Linked DNA regions of Homo sapiens: region 1 is linked to region 2. The links are contacts of gene promoters, found by promoter capture Hi-C in human tissues and cell types (Jung and others, 2019). All regions are on one chromosome and are shown on one strand. Each heading gives the region's core, a stretch centred on a gene start or on the middle of the fragment in contact. The rest is flanking DNA. Distances are from core to core; before and after follow the strand shown. Region 1 has its middle 10 kb from the start of COL16A1. Region 2 holds the start of KPNA6 (karyopherin subunit alpha 6).

The links. Contacts are between HindIII fragments. The study calls those that stand out against the background at their distance.
Region 1: a contact is called between a fragment that was not itself captured here and the fragment with the promoter of KPNA6 in region 2, in 1 of the 25 tissues and cell types used here (hippocampus).

The regions. Positions count from the first base shown.
Region 1 is chr1:31,710,526-31,717,480 of GRCh38, forward strand. No RefSeq gene overlaps it. Among named protein-coding and RNA genes, the nearest start is that of COL16A1, 10 kb to the left of the region's middle. RefSeq lists enhancers at 4,643-4,937, 4,797-5,394, 5,217-5,326, 5,395-5,990. The HindIII fragment of the contact is 5,169 bases long and covers 1,016-6,184 here.
Region 2 is chr1:32,105,338-32,112,990 of GRCh38, forward strand. It overlaps KPNA6 (karyopherin subunit alpha 6), which reads left to right and starts at 2,719. Exons shown (of 14, transcript NM_012316.5): 1 at 2,719-2,797. The coding sequence starts at 2,794. RefSeq lists enhancers at 2,413-2,931, 2,545-2,974, 2,932-3,449. The HindIII fragment of the contact is 12,561 bases long and covers 1-6,718 here.

The sequences.
Region 1 (6,955 bases), core at 2,350-4,849, 390 kb before region 2:
AGCTGAGATCACGCCACTGCACTCCTGCCTGGGCAACAGAGCGAGACTCCATCTCAAAAAAAAAAAAAAAAAAAAAAAAAAGGTTTAAAGCTGGAAAGTCAGGTGGGCCAGAGATTGGAACTTGACTCTGCCTAACACCAGGGCCCATGAGTTTACTCAGGTCACCTGCAGTCCCCCAAGTTCTGTAAAGCAGGAGGGTAGGCGTTCTCAAGCTTGGAGGACTTGTTAAACACAGGTTGGCAGGCCCCACTCTCAGAGTTTCTGATTCAGTAGTTTGCATTCCTAACAAGTTCCCAGGTGATGCTGATGTTGTGGACCCAGGGACCACATTTGAGAACCCCTGCGGGAGAGTATGATGTTTGATTATCTGCATGTGGGTTCAAATCCAGCCCTTACTGAGTCTATGACTTGGGGATATCACTTAACCTCTTCCTCTGCAAGCAGAGATAACAGCAGTGCCTATCACGTAGGGTTGCTGGAAGGATTAAGGGAGATAGTGACAAAGAGAAAGCCCCTCACGGGATGCTGGCACCTAGTAAACTCTCAGAAGTGCTCACCAGCGTTAGGATTCCCAACCCAGGCAATGCTCCCCCTTTCCAAACAGAAGAAGCTCCCAGTGAGCAGAGAACTAAAACAGCCTCTTCTCCTGCCTATCAGATATCTCTCCAGGCCTAGTAAGAGCAAGGCACAAGATGCCAAATGACATAAGCCCAGGCGGGACAGTGGGATGTTGCTCACGTCTGCCTAGGTATTCCCAGGGACTCCTGCCCCATAGCACAGGTTCTCCTGGAGCAGAGGTGAGGGTGGCACATAGTCAGCAGTGAGAACCCCCAGACTGGTGTGGCCCCCAGACTTCCTCCAGACCCAATCCCACACCTAATGACCCTAGCCTTTTGGGGTAAGAATGGCATAGCTTGCCACCACCACACCTTATCCAAACATCCCTTTGGCCACCAACCAACACAACTCAATCCTGCTGTGCTGTGTGACCTTGAGCTAAACCCTAAGCTCCTCTGAGCCTTACTTTCTTCACCTGTAATAATCAAATAAGAGCCAGGTATAGTTGTTCATGCCTATAATCCCAGCACTTTGGGAGGCCCAAGCAGGAGGATCACTTGAACATAGGAGTTTGAGACCAGCTTGGGCAACATAGTGAGACCCTTGTCTCTACAAAAAATTTTTAAAAATTAGCTGGGTGTGGCAGTCCATGCCTGTAGTCTCAGCTACTCAGGAGGCTGAGGCAGGAGGATCTCTTGAGCCCAGGAGGTTAAAACTGCAGTGAGCTGTGACTATGCCACTGCATTCCAGCCTGGGCAACAAAGCGAGATCCTGTTTCCAAAAAAAAAAAAAAAAATGCAAATAAGACCTCAGCATAGTGGCTAAAGGAAGGGGCAAGGGGACTCTAGTTCCAGGGTAACTGGGTTCAAATCCTGCCTGTACCACTTACTAGCTGTGTGACTTTTGACAAACTACCCCATCTTCCTGGAGTAAGCCTCAGTTTTCTCGTTGGTGAAACAGAATTGTCCCTACCTCACAAGGATGCTGTGAGGGTTACCTGTGACAGGACATTTAAAGTGCTGAGCTTGGTTCCTGGAACTCAATGAACACCAGCTATTCTAGATGTACAATGAGAGTGTGTAACCCTCATTGCCACCACAAAGAGAGTATGTAATCTTCACCACCACAACACACGCAGTCCCTTGGCGGGCTTCCCTCCCCTCAATGTTTAGCTTTGAGGCTATGTTCACTTTCCTTCCCACTTGGAGGTGGGGAAGGAAATTGGAAACAGGCCCCAGGGCGGGTAGATCTTGGCAGAAGCTTGGAGGAGGGAGGAGGATCATCAATTATTAGCCATTGATTTGCTTGAACGTCTTTGTGTCCTGCTAAACCAGAAGTCACAAAAGGAGCTGCTTTTGTTACCATTTCTCCCTAGAGCCTGTGACAGAGACTAGGTGTTTTAAAAATAGTTGCTGCATGAATGAAAGAGGGGGTCGAGCGCCTTCTGAGGACAAACTCCCCTCCATGAAGTACAAACCAAGGAGTCTCCTGGCGGATGCTTGGTGATGAGGGGAGTATTGAAGGACTCCCAGATTCTTTCTTCGCATGCAAGAAACTCAGACAGTTGGTCTCATAAATTCTTCGAATCCTGGAATCTCTGGGTGGAGAGAAGCTCTGGCAGCTGCCCAGCTCCTCCTCCTCCCAGCAGTGCCTGGGCTGGGGCTGGGCAGGAGAGGCCTGGTGACCTGGCTAGAAAGAAGGCTAAGGGAGTGAGCAGGGGAAGGGAAAGTTCAGGGAGAAACCCCAACTGTTTCACCAAAGCAGAAAATAAATCAGAGATCAAGAAAGGGTGTGATCCTGGCTCTGCTACTTCCTGGCTTTATTATCTTAGGCAAATTCCTTCACCTCTGTGAGGCATACTTTCCATATCTGTAGAAGGGGGGTGATAGTAATAACACTAACCACATGGAATTGTGAGGATTCAATGAGATAATGCATGAGACTACGCCAAGCCCATAGTAAACATTCAACAATGCTCATTCTTATGTACCTTATTTTTATTTGAGCAGACTCTTGTCCTGCATCTTACACCCATGTTCATCTCTGACATTTCCTCCTGATCCCCCATTTTATTATTTACATAGCTGGTTTCATGTAGCTTTAAGAGCTCAGTGACATTTCTGACAGACATAAGACCTTTTTCCGTGAAGTGGCCTAAATGATAATATGTAAAGACCGAAAACCAACTGGAGTATTTGTTTGTCAGCCTTGACCATTCAGAAAAGGCCTGACACTGGTGTGTTCGAACGAAAGAGGACAGGTGATGGGAGAGTGGGAGAAAGAGCCTGGGACTGGGGGATTGGCAGACTGGGGGCCTAGGTTCAAGGCCGAGGTCTGCCTTGATGCATTGTTTGGCTTTAGGAGGCTTCTTGCCTTTGGGAAACTAGGGAAGGCTGAACTTGGAGACTCTTGAGCCCACTCCATTCCTCCCAAGTCTGAGGGTCTTAAGCCTGTAATGAGCCAAATATGTCCCCTCCTTGAGATGGGGAAGGGGAATGGGAGTGGGGTGAAGTGAGCCAGACCTGTGTGAGGGCCAGGGTACCACCCTCCCGCTCACCCCCAATTCAGGCCTCATACACGCCTCAGTTTACCAGGTGTTCCAGATCCATCCAAGTACCCTGTGACCATTCCCCATACCACCTTAGCTAAGTCCTTCCAGGAAGAGGAGCCCACCACACCACACCCATTAATCCTCCTCTGGAAGGAGAGAAAAATAGGTGTTGGAGATGGTAACTTGCTGAGCGGGACTGAAGCCAGGTGTGTGTGACTCCCAATATGCCACGACTGCTTTTTAAAAAATATTTTGGCCGGGTGTGGTGGCTCATGTCTGTAATCCCAACACTTTGAGGAGGCAGATGGATCACCTGGGGTCAGGAGTTCGAGACCAGCCTGACCAACATGGTGAAACCCCGTCTCTACTAAATACAAAAAAAAATTAGCTGGGCCTGTTGGTGGGCACCTGTAATCCCAGCTATTTGGGAGGCTGAGGCAGGAGAATCGCTTGAACCCAGGAGGTGGAGGTTGCAGTGAGCTGAGATTGCGCTGTTGCACTCCAGCCTGGGAGACCGAGTGAGACTCTGTCTCAAAAAAAAAAATTATTTCAATCATTAGGACAATCCCAAGTATGTCTCATTCCCAATTGACAGGGGAATGGGCCATAAACCTGGGTGTCATCCTCGGGTGGAGCACCTACAGTAGGAAACAGGCCCTAGGAAGTGGAGTGAAATCCAGAGCTGTCACAGGGCACTCTACTGTGCCATGGGCCTCTTCCTCTCTTTGGAACTCGGTTTTCTCATCTATGGAATAGCAGTGTTTGCTCCAGAACCGCTAATATCCAGGTCGGGACTTTGTGTTGCTGCGAGCCCAGGTCCCCACCCTGAAGTCTAGGACAGACCCATGAGCTTGGGTGGGAGAGAAGAGCAATGCAGACGTGACTGTCCTGCCAGGCGGGGGCGCCGCCGCCAGACGCACGAAAACAACCAAATAAATCAGGCCCAGGAACTCCTAATCCTTCCCGGCTGTGGCTGCTACCGCTTGCCCCGCCGGCACCGCCCTGCCAAGGGCGCAGAGTCGGGCCAGCAGAGCCGGAGTGATGCCGGGCCATCGAGGCGTCCTCAGCCCCCGAGGTGGGAGGTGGTGGGGGGGCGGGGAGGAGAAGAAGAAGGCTCTCCCGACACGGTGACTCAGGCCTCCTTGACCCGCTCCTGGGTGGGCACGTTCCTGCGCCCCGGTCTATTTTTAGAGCCGGCTCTGGGCCTGAGCGCAGACTGAAGGGAAGGGGGGCCTCGTGGGGGGCGCAGGCGCCTGACCAGCTCCTCCAGCTCGGGGCTCAAGCCCCAGGCCCTCCAGCTGTCTACTTGGAAAAGGGTGGAAGCACATGGAGGGTGGGTGTCAGGGTGTGCGGCGCAGGCCCAGAGAATGCGCCCCCCTTCCCCACAAGGCCTGGCAGTTCCAGAGAACTGGGCGCGGCCTCCCAAATAACGACCTCTGTTAAGTGGGACCAGGAGCCTCCCGATGGTCGCTGTGTCTGCCCATTGGACCAGGGGCCAGGGCGGGCGGGGCTTTGGGCGACAGAACTGGCTAGGGTGGGAGAGGAGAGGAAGCTGCCAGGTTCTGGGGATCCCGACCCCACCCCGCCGACAGCCACGCCTCCAGCCCACTCTGGCCACGCCACTGGTCTGCCTTTGGACCACACTCATGGCCGGGTGCCTTCCCTGACTCCGCCCTAGGCCCTGCCTCCTATCTGGCTCCGCCCAGCCCTGGCCAACCTTAGAACCTGTCCCAAGGTCCAGAGAGGCCTAGATGAGGGGTAGCCTGCCTCTGAGAGGCATGGAGCCCTCCTCCCGCGTGGGGTCAGGGAATAGAAGGGCGTCGAGGGTGGCGGGTGAGGGAACGTTCCTGGCGCCGCGAACGGGAAGCCTCCAGGCTGCAGGACGTAGCTGCGGGGACCCGGCAGTCTGCGAGGCTGGAGTGGCCGAGGCCGCCCCGAGCATAGAAACAGCCCTGTATACGTGGGCACAGAAAGGCCCAGGGAGGCGCCTGGGCAGAAGTGTCTAGGACGATGCCTCTGCCACGGAGCCCTGGAGTGGGGGCAGCTGATGGCTCAAGACACATGAGCTCTGGTGGCGAGTACAGGGACGCGGGGTTTGGGGAGGCCCAAGTCAAGGTCCATCCTTCTGGGATGAGGGGCGGAGGATGGGAGGCGGAGCCCGGTCTCCAGGGCACCAGCCCTCCACCTAGCGGGAAGCTTGGGAATCGCGGAGTGCAGAGGTGGGGTGCGGAAAGGGTTCCACCGCGCCTGGGCTCCTTTTTCTCCTTGGAGGTCCCACTGGCGCCTACCCACCACCATCCTGCCCAGTCCGCTCCATCTCGGGGATTCGCCCCAGATAGAAAGGGGAGTCATTCTAACATCTATCTTCCCTTCTTCCCCCCATCTCCAGGTCCTATCCCCTTCCCTTCTTCCTTGCAGTTATCCCTGGGAGCTGCCTCTGCCGGTTCCAGTCCCTGGAACACCTGACAACTGCTCTTCCTGCCACCAGTTTTACCCTCTCCCCCATCCATTTTTCATAGCCATGTGGTGTTTCTTTTTTTCTTTTCTTTTTTTTTTGAGGCAGAGTCTTGCTCTGTGGCCCAGGCAGGAGTGCTGTGGCGCGATCTCGGCTCACTGCAAGCTCCGCCTCCCGGGCTCACGCCATTCTCCTGCCTCAGCCTTCCGAGTAGCTGGGACTACAGGCGCCCGCCACCACACCCGGCTAATTTTTTGTACATTTAGTAGAGACGGGGTTTCACCGTGTTAGCCAGGATGGTCTCAATCTCCTGACCTCATGATCCACCCGCCTCGGCCTCCCAAAGTGCTGGGATTACAGGCGTGAGCCACTGCGCCCAGCCGCCATGCGGTGTTTCTAAACAGGAATCTGGTTGTGTCACTTTCTTGATTAGAATCATTCAATAGCATCTTATGGTCCAAATAGACTCCAAACCTTGACTTGGGACTTGAGCTCTTCACCATCCAGCTCCACCTCCCTCAGCCCCAGTCCCTCTCTGGGGCTTTCTGTGTTCCACCCATACAGGAGAACTGTCAGCTCCTCATCCCTTTTCCAGGAACGCCCTCCCTGGCCTCATCCTTGCTGTCTTCAGGGCTTAGTCTGGCAGAGACTCCACTTCTTGGGAGGCCTTTCCTGAACCCCAGGTCTTAGTTAGGTGCCCCTTGTCTGACCTCCCACCACCCCCAGTATGTGCCTGCCTCTCTCAGAGCAGTCACTGCCTGGGTCTCTAATGACTTATTCACTCCCGTGGCAGGACAATTGATTGAGATATTAATTGCTTTGTTCTCCTGTAGTTTCCCCTCCCACTTGCAAGCTGGTAGCCAAGCCCTTTGATTTTTCTAGCCTCAGGGAACTGTGCAGGGCCAAACGCAAAAAGCTGCTTGAAGTCTGATGGCTTGTCCTGAGTTTGGAAAGAGCTAAACTTCTGGAAGCAGGCGTGCCATGTGTTCCCAAGGGATGGGGAGAAGAGGACAGAGAATTGAGAGGCAGAAGCTAGCTGCAGAGGGTGCAGAAGCTGGGGGTCCTTTGGGTGGTAGGGACCTGTGTCTAGCTCCCTTGACAGCTGATAGCTCCCTTGACAGGTGACAGGAGCTGTGGGGATGTGTGGTAACGCACCTGGGGTGGCTGGAGTGCAAACACTTGGGAACCAGCTTCAGTGCTCCAAAGTAGCAGGGGAACAGCTTAGTCACTGAGCCTCAAGGGACCATATGGACTACTAGGACAATGGACATCTCTGTGTGACCAATGTAGACTGAAGACAGGAGGCACCTCTTCTGTGCCCATGTGCAGGGAGGGCCAGCAGCTCCTTGCACTCGCCAGTGGGAAAGGTGGGAGGGAGCCTTCAGTGATGG
Region 2 (7,653 bases), core at 1,469-3,968:
GGGAGGTGAAGTTTGCAATGAGCCAAGATCATGCCATTGCACTCCAGCCTGGACAACAAGAGCAAAACTCTGTCTCAAAAAAAAAAAAAAAAAGTGAGTAGTTCTCATGGTTAAGTGGGGAAAGGAGGGCACTGCATTCTAAGCAGAGGGAACAGCATATGCAAAGGCACATGAGAAGACAGGCGCATATTTGAAGAAAAGTGGTTCTCCAAATATGGTTGGAGCCTGCATTGCCTGGTGGGGAGTGTCCCAAGAAGCAGGTAAGGACCAGTCTGTGCCAGATTAAAATGTCTGGGCATTACCTAAGGGCAGGCAGTAGGAAGTTGCTAAGCAGAAGAGTTACACTGTAAGGTTTCTGCTTTTTTTTTTCTTTTTTTTTTTCTTTTTTTTTTTTTTTTTTAATGAGACAGGTTTCTCTGTGTTGCCCAGGCTGGTCTTGAACTCCTGGGCTCAAGCAATTCTCCCACCTCAGCCTTCCCAGTAGCTGAGATTATAGGTCTCTGCTTTTCAGGAGATAGTGGGTGGGAGCCGGAGAGTCTGGAGGCAGGAGGCCAGAGAGGAGGCAGGCAAAACAGAACAGGGCAAAGTGATGAGGTCTCACCTTAAGCAGGGGCAGTAGGAAGGGAAATAAAGTGCGCCCCTTCCTGACCTTCATCCTAGAGTTTTCCTTTTGATTTCTTTGCCTCAAGAAAATGGGCCAGGCGCACAACTAAAGTTGGCAGTTTGTTGTGACAGGCCCTTGTTCTGCTTCCAGAAGATAGATCCCTCTGTGTCTTGAAGATATAGCCTGGCTCTGTGTGTCGAGGTGGGGGACAGGAGGGCTGCCATGTCATGGAAAAAGAAAGGCCTGATATGTACTAGCCATACGTCCCGTGATTGAAAAGGCATATGAACAATAAAAGCCTCAATTTCCTCATCTCTAAAAGGGGAGATCATGTCCCTTGCTCTGTGTAACTCAATTTTTTGTTCATTCCTTTGTTTATTCATTCAATAGTTATTTATGGAGCACACACAATGTGCCAGATTCTGTGCTAGGTGCTGGAGATACGGTGGTAAACAATATAGAACCCACCCCTGCCTTCAAGGAGCTTGCTGTGAGGATAAATGAAATGATTATGAAATCACTCTGTTAACTATACTGCATGGGTCTCATTGTTTTTCTTTTTTTTTTTTAGAGACGGGGGATCTTGCTATGTTGCCCAGGCTGGTCTCGAACTCTTGGGCTCAAGCAATCTGCCGCCTCAGCCTCCTAAAATGCTGGGATTACAGGAATGAGCCACCATGTCCAGCCCATTTCTTTCTCTCTCTCTCTCTCTCTTTTTTTTTTTTTTAGAGACAGGGTCTCACTCTATCACCCAACCTGGAGTATAGTGACACAGTCATGGCACTGCAGCCTTGACCTCCCGGACTCAAGTGATCCTCTCGCCTCAGCCGCCCAAGTACAAGTGCTCATTACCATGCCTGGCTAATTTTTTTCTTTTAATTTATTTTTTGTGGAGATGGGGTCTCACTGTGTTGCCCAGTCTGGTCTTGAGCTCCTGGCCTCAAGTGATTCTCTGGCCTCAGCTTCCCAAAGTGTTAGGATTATAGACAAGCGTGAACCACCACACCCAGCCCTATTTTTCTATTTCTCATCTCCCAATAAGATTGCAACCTCAACTAGGGCTACCTACGTAGGCCTAATCAGAAAACCTGAGTTTAGTCTTACTTCTTTGTTTCCTTCTCTCCATAGCCTCATTGAGCAAGGCACTTCCCCTCTCTAGATGATTCGTTGTTCATATTCAGCCCAAGGTCTATGATTGCTGTTTTTGTTTTTAGAGACGGAGTTTTGCTCTTGTCTCCCAGGCTGGAATGCAGTGGCACAATCTCGGCTCACTGCAACCTCTGCCTCCCGGGTTAAAGCAATTCTCCTGCCTCAGCCTCCCAAGTAGATTACAGGCATGCGCCACCACACCCAGCTAATTTTTGTATTTTTAGTAGAGACCATGGGCAGGCTGGTCTCGAACTCCTGATCTCAGGTGATCCGCCCGCCTCGGCCTACCCAAAGTGCTGGGATTACAGGCGTGAGCCACAGCGCCCAGCCGATTGGTTTCAACTATTAGAAGAAGGGATAAACTGGCCCGGAGCGGTGGCTCAAGCCTGTAATCCCAGCACTTTGGGGGCGGGCGGATCACCTGAGGTAAGGAGTTCAAGACCAGCCTAGCCAACATGGTTGAAACACCGTCTCTAGTAAAAATACAAAAATTAGCCAGGCGTGGTGGCAGGCGCCTGTAATCCCAGCTACTCGGGGGGCCGAGGCAGGAGAATCGCTTGAACTCGGGAGGCAGAGTGTGCAGTGAGCCGAGATCGCGCCATCGCACTCCAGCCTGGGGGGACAAGAGCGAGACTGCGTCTCAAAAAAAAAAAAAAAAAAAAAAAAAAAAAAAGGAGGGATAAGCTTCTGGGAGAAAAAGTTCCGGGTAAAGAAATCTCACTATAAAAAAGAAATAGTAGCAGAAACAGCTGGGAACTCCTAGACACACTTAACTTTCTTAGGTATCCCTTCCAGTCTCCTCCCAACCACTCCTTTCCTATTTCATTTCCACTCCCCACCTTTAGTAGCTGCGGTCTCTTTAAGTGCGCACTTTCGGTGTAATGATAGGCGATTGGGCCAATAAAGCGTTTCGTCCTGGAGTTAACTGGTTTGTCCCTTTCGGGCTGCCGTCCTACAGATCCGCCATATTGTCTACTGAAAGCTGCCGCTGAAGCTGCCGCCGTTGCCTCCGCCGCCAAGAGTGAGCGAGCGGACCCGCGATGGGTGAGTGAGGAAACCACGCAGTAGGGTTCTTGGGCTCAGGGAGTGTCGGGGCCTGGGATTTGGCGAGAGCCTGTCTCCGGTCTGCGGAAGATGTCTGCATCCCCTCTAGCTAGGTCTGAGGGGAAAAGTCAGGCCGGGAGTGCCCCTCTTGCCAGTTTTGGGCCGAGCTAGGGCCCGTGCTGGAAGCAGTCCTTTGGTGCTGGTTTCGGGGACACCTTGGCACGCCTGGAGCCCCCCACATGGTGGCCTCGGGCAGGAGCCCACGTGTTCCTGGGAGGTAGAAAGGGGCCTACTCTCTGTCCTGCGCCCAGACTGGGGCTGGGGGACGGGCTCCCGGCGGCAGGCCTGGGCGGCGCTAAGGTAGCTTTCTCCTGGGTTGTGTTTGGCCAACGCGTGTCTTGACTAGATTCAGTGGCTCCCCTGAACTCAGGGAAGTCCTACCTACGTAGCGAGGTGGAGTCCTCTAGTGAGGGGACGTCAGGCGAGCCAGCACTAGGCCGGTAAGCATGGGCAGCCAGGCCGAGGGCAGCTTGCGCCGCTGAAGGCCGGGAGAACGGAATCAAGGCGGAAATAGTGTGGTTCGGTTGGGCTCAGAGTGGCATCGCTTGTGATGGTAGAACACCAAAGGCCAAGTCCTCTTGGCCATCTTTAGGTTGAGGACTTTAGGTTTCTGGGCTGGCCCTGGTAAGGAGAAAAGGAGCGACCTGTTGATCTTTCTGAGGGGACTCCGGCTGGCAAGGCCTCTGTTCAGAGAGAATACCATGGCGAAGTCTTTGGATTTAGAGACAGAACCAACAGTGGTAATTCCTCTAAAGCAGTAAAAATTGTGAAATTTGCTAAGCTCTTTCTACGTACGGGCATTGTTCTGATTGCTTTACATGTCTTGTTTTACTTAATTTGTACAACCTAAGGAAATAGATGCTACCATTGCCATTTTACAGATGTGGAAGCTGAGCTTTAGAGAGGTAAAGTAACTTACCCAAGGTCATGCAGTGGCTAAGCCAGGGTGAACACTCCCAAGCCTAGTTTGTAACTGCTGTTTGTTGTTGTTGTTGATAGAGTCTTGCTCTGTCGCCCAGGCTGGAGTGCAGTGACGCGATCTCGGCTCACTGCAACCTCCTGCCTCCCGGGTTCAAGCGATTCTCCTGCCTCAGCCTCCCGAGTAGCTGGGATTACAGGCACCCACCACCACGCCCGGCTGATTTTTGTGTGTTTTTGGTAGAGACAGGGTTTCGTCATGTTGGCCAGGCTGGTCTCGAACCCCTGACCTCAAGTGATTCGCCTGCCTCGGCCTCCCAAAGTGCTGGGATTACAGGTGTGAGCCACTGCGTCCAGCCTGTTTTTTTGTTTTGTTTTTTTTTTTAAATGACCTGGCCCTCTAGTGGTTGGGCAGGGAGAAAAGGGGAAAAAAGCTTTTAACCCTAGGCAAAGTTGTAAATGTGTTTGGGTTTTCTGTTTGTTTATTTTGTTTTGTTTTGCTTTTTGTTTTTGCATGTGGGCCCATTATGAAATCTTTTTTTTTTTTTTGAGACGGAGTCTGGCTCTGTTGCCCAGGCTGGAGTGCATTGGCGCGATCTCGGCTCACTGCAACTACCACCTTCCCGGGTTCACGCCATTCTCCTGCCTCAGCCTCCCGAGTAGTTGGGACTACAGGTGCCCGCCACCACGCCTGGATAATTTTTTTTGTATTTTTTTGTATTTTTAGTGGAGACGGGGTTTCACCGTGTTAGCCAGGATGGTCTTGATCTCCTGACCTCGTGATCCTCCCGCCTCGCCTTCCAAAGTGCTGAGATTACAAGCGTGAGCCACCATGCCCGGCCACTTTGAAATCCTTTTTCTGAACGAAACTGAAGGAGTCCAGAGTGAATTGATAACTCTAATTATTGTGTGTGGGGCAAGCAAAATGAGAATCTGGAATTGAATTTTTTTTTTTTTTTTTTTTTTTCTGAGAAGAAATTTCACTCTTGTCTCCCATGCTGGAGTGCAGTGGCCAGATCTCGGCTCACTGCAACCTCTGCCTCCCGGGTTAAAGCAATTTTCCTGCCTCAGCCTCCTGAGTAGCTGGGATTACAGGCATCCACCACCACACCTAGCTAATTTTTGTATTTTTAGTAGAGACAGGGTTTCACCATGTTGGCCAAGCTGGTCTCGAACTCCTGACCTCTGGTGATCTGCCCGTCTCGGCCTCCCAAAGTGCTGGGATTACAGGCATGAGCCACCGCGCCTGGCCTGGAATTGGATTTTTAAAGATCTGAGATTCTAAGGAAGCAGAAATTATTCACTTGAGCTTCAAGGCAATGACTGTAGAATCAGATCTGGTATTGGAAGTCACTTAAATGTCAGACACAACAACACATATGGAAAGCATCTAGCACAGTCCACAATAATGTTTTTCTTCCTTTCTGAGCCTTCCTTTTCTGACCTCTAGAAAGAAGGGGTGGGGCTGTGTTATCAAGATATTTGGGGACTAAATAAGATAACAGCATTTGGGCTGGGCAAGGTGGCTCAGGCCTATAATCCCATAGGCCGAGGCGGGTGGATCACCTGAGGTCAGGAGGACGACACCAACCTGACCAATAAGGTGAAACCCTGTCTCTACTAAAAATACAAAAATTAGCTGGGTATGGTGGCGTGCTCCTGTAATCCCAGCTACTTGGGAGGCTGAGAAGGGAGAATTGCTTGAACCCGGGAGGCGGAGGTTGCAGTGAGCCGAGATCATGCCAGCCTGGGCAACAAGCTAGACTCCCTCTCAAAAACAAACAAATAAACAAACAAAAAACAGATAACAGTGTTTGGAGCCTAAAGGGCTCCATGAATATCAGAACAGATTCTTTTCCACTTTCAATAATGTTCCTTTCCCTTAAGCACTCTGGTTTCCAGGTTTCCCTATTGAGTAATAAGACTGATAGGCCTTTCTTAGTAGCTGGAGCTTCATCTTTCAGTGAAAAAAATTTAGGGGGTTTTATGTTATAAACTTTGTTATAAATTTTATATTGGTCTTCAGTTTCAGAAACACTGTTGCCTCAAAGGGAAGGAACTAATGTTTAATAAGCTCAGTGAAATAAGTAGAGATTTACTCAGTTTTATAGATTGGGAAACTGTCTCGGAGAAGATAACACAGCCAGTAAGCCACAAAGCCAGGAGTAAGATTCTTACCCATTTTGCAGCACATAAATCTATAAGACTTAAGAAGTTAAGAAATAAAGTTAGTCCTATTCTGGTACAGTTCAACATGAAAGTTCTTCAGTGGAGCAACAAACCCTGACCAAGGTCTTGAAGGGGGTTTTTAGCCTAGAGTCAGGTAACTTCCTCTTTCCAGCTCCATCTCAGGTACCTCTCCCTCATCGTAGCTTGTCTTTATGAATGTCAGCTTTTTGTTTGTTGTAGACCAAACTAATGCATTCATTTAATTCTAACATCTAATCTAAGGTATCTTGGGTTATCTCCATTTACACTTATAAACTGAGGCTTTGAGAAGATTAGGTGACTAGTCCAAGGCTGGTATTCTGGATCCTTTGGGCACTGGAGACACTAACACAGCCTGCCTTCACATGCCCACAAGTACGGAACCTGCCGTATTTCACTGCCTCTTAAGTGTACTCTCAGTCTGTATCCTACTAGCTCAGTCGTATATCCTACACTATTTCTACTATGCCAAACTTCATTACCCTTAACAGACCTTTGCAGTGATTTCCCTGCCACTAGGTGCCCTGTAGGGGTGATATTTGTAGCTCTGGAGATTGCTTTATTCTGACCCTCTAGCAGAGACTACAACCTCATGAGTCTTGGCAGACACTACTTGTCTTTTCACCATTACTACTACTGTGCTAACTGGGAATCTGGCCACCCTTCCTTACCCCAAGGGGTGGGTCTTGATATAAACTCTAAACCAATCATTGTAACTCTAGCTCCCTAGACAGTGATTGATTTAGGCATGGGCATATGATGCAGTTCTTGCTAATTAGATGGGAAGGGAAGCCTGGGGAACTTGTGGAGAAGCCTTCCTTATTTAAAAGAGACTTGCCAGCTTTTATTTTATTATTTTTTGCCAGTTTGTATTTTAACCCAGGTTGCACCAAAATGTGTGAACCACAAACAAAGACAGAGATGGGAAAGCTATAATAATAATAATACCCAACACTTGTATAGAACTTGCTATGTGCTAGGTACTCTTCTAAGTAGAGGCATACCTCAGAGCTAAGGCAAGTTTGGTTCCAGACCACTGCAATAAAGCAAATATAATAAAGCAAGTCACATGAATTTTTCTGTTTTCCAATGCATATAAAAGTTATCTTTATACTATACTGTAGTCTCTTAAGTGTGCAATAATATGTAGAGTAAAAGTACCTCTTTTATTTATTTATTTATTTATTTGAGACAGGCTGGCCCTGTCTGTCACCCAGGCTGGAGTGCAATGGCGTGATCTCGGCTCACTGCAACCTCCGCTTCCTGGGTTCAAACCATTCTCCTGCCTCAGCCTCCTGAGTAGCTGGGATTACAGGTGCCCACCACCACACCCAGCTAATTTTTGTATTTTTAGTAGAGACGGAGTTTTACCATGTTGGACAGGCTGGTCTTGAACTCCTGACCTCATGATCTGCCTGCCTCAGCCTCCCAAAGTGCTGGGATTATAGGCATGCATGAGCCACCATGCCCAGCCAAAAGTACATATCTTAATTAAGAAATCCTTATTGTGAAAAATTGCCATTTGGTGAGCTGTAATCTTTGCTGGTGGAGGGTCTTACCTTGATGTTGATGGCTGCTGAGACTGATCAGGGTGGTGATTGTCTGGGGTGGCAGTAACAACCTATGAAATTTGCCACATCAATTGATTCTTCCTTTCACCACAGATTTCT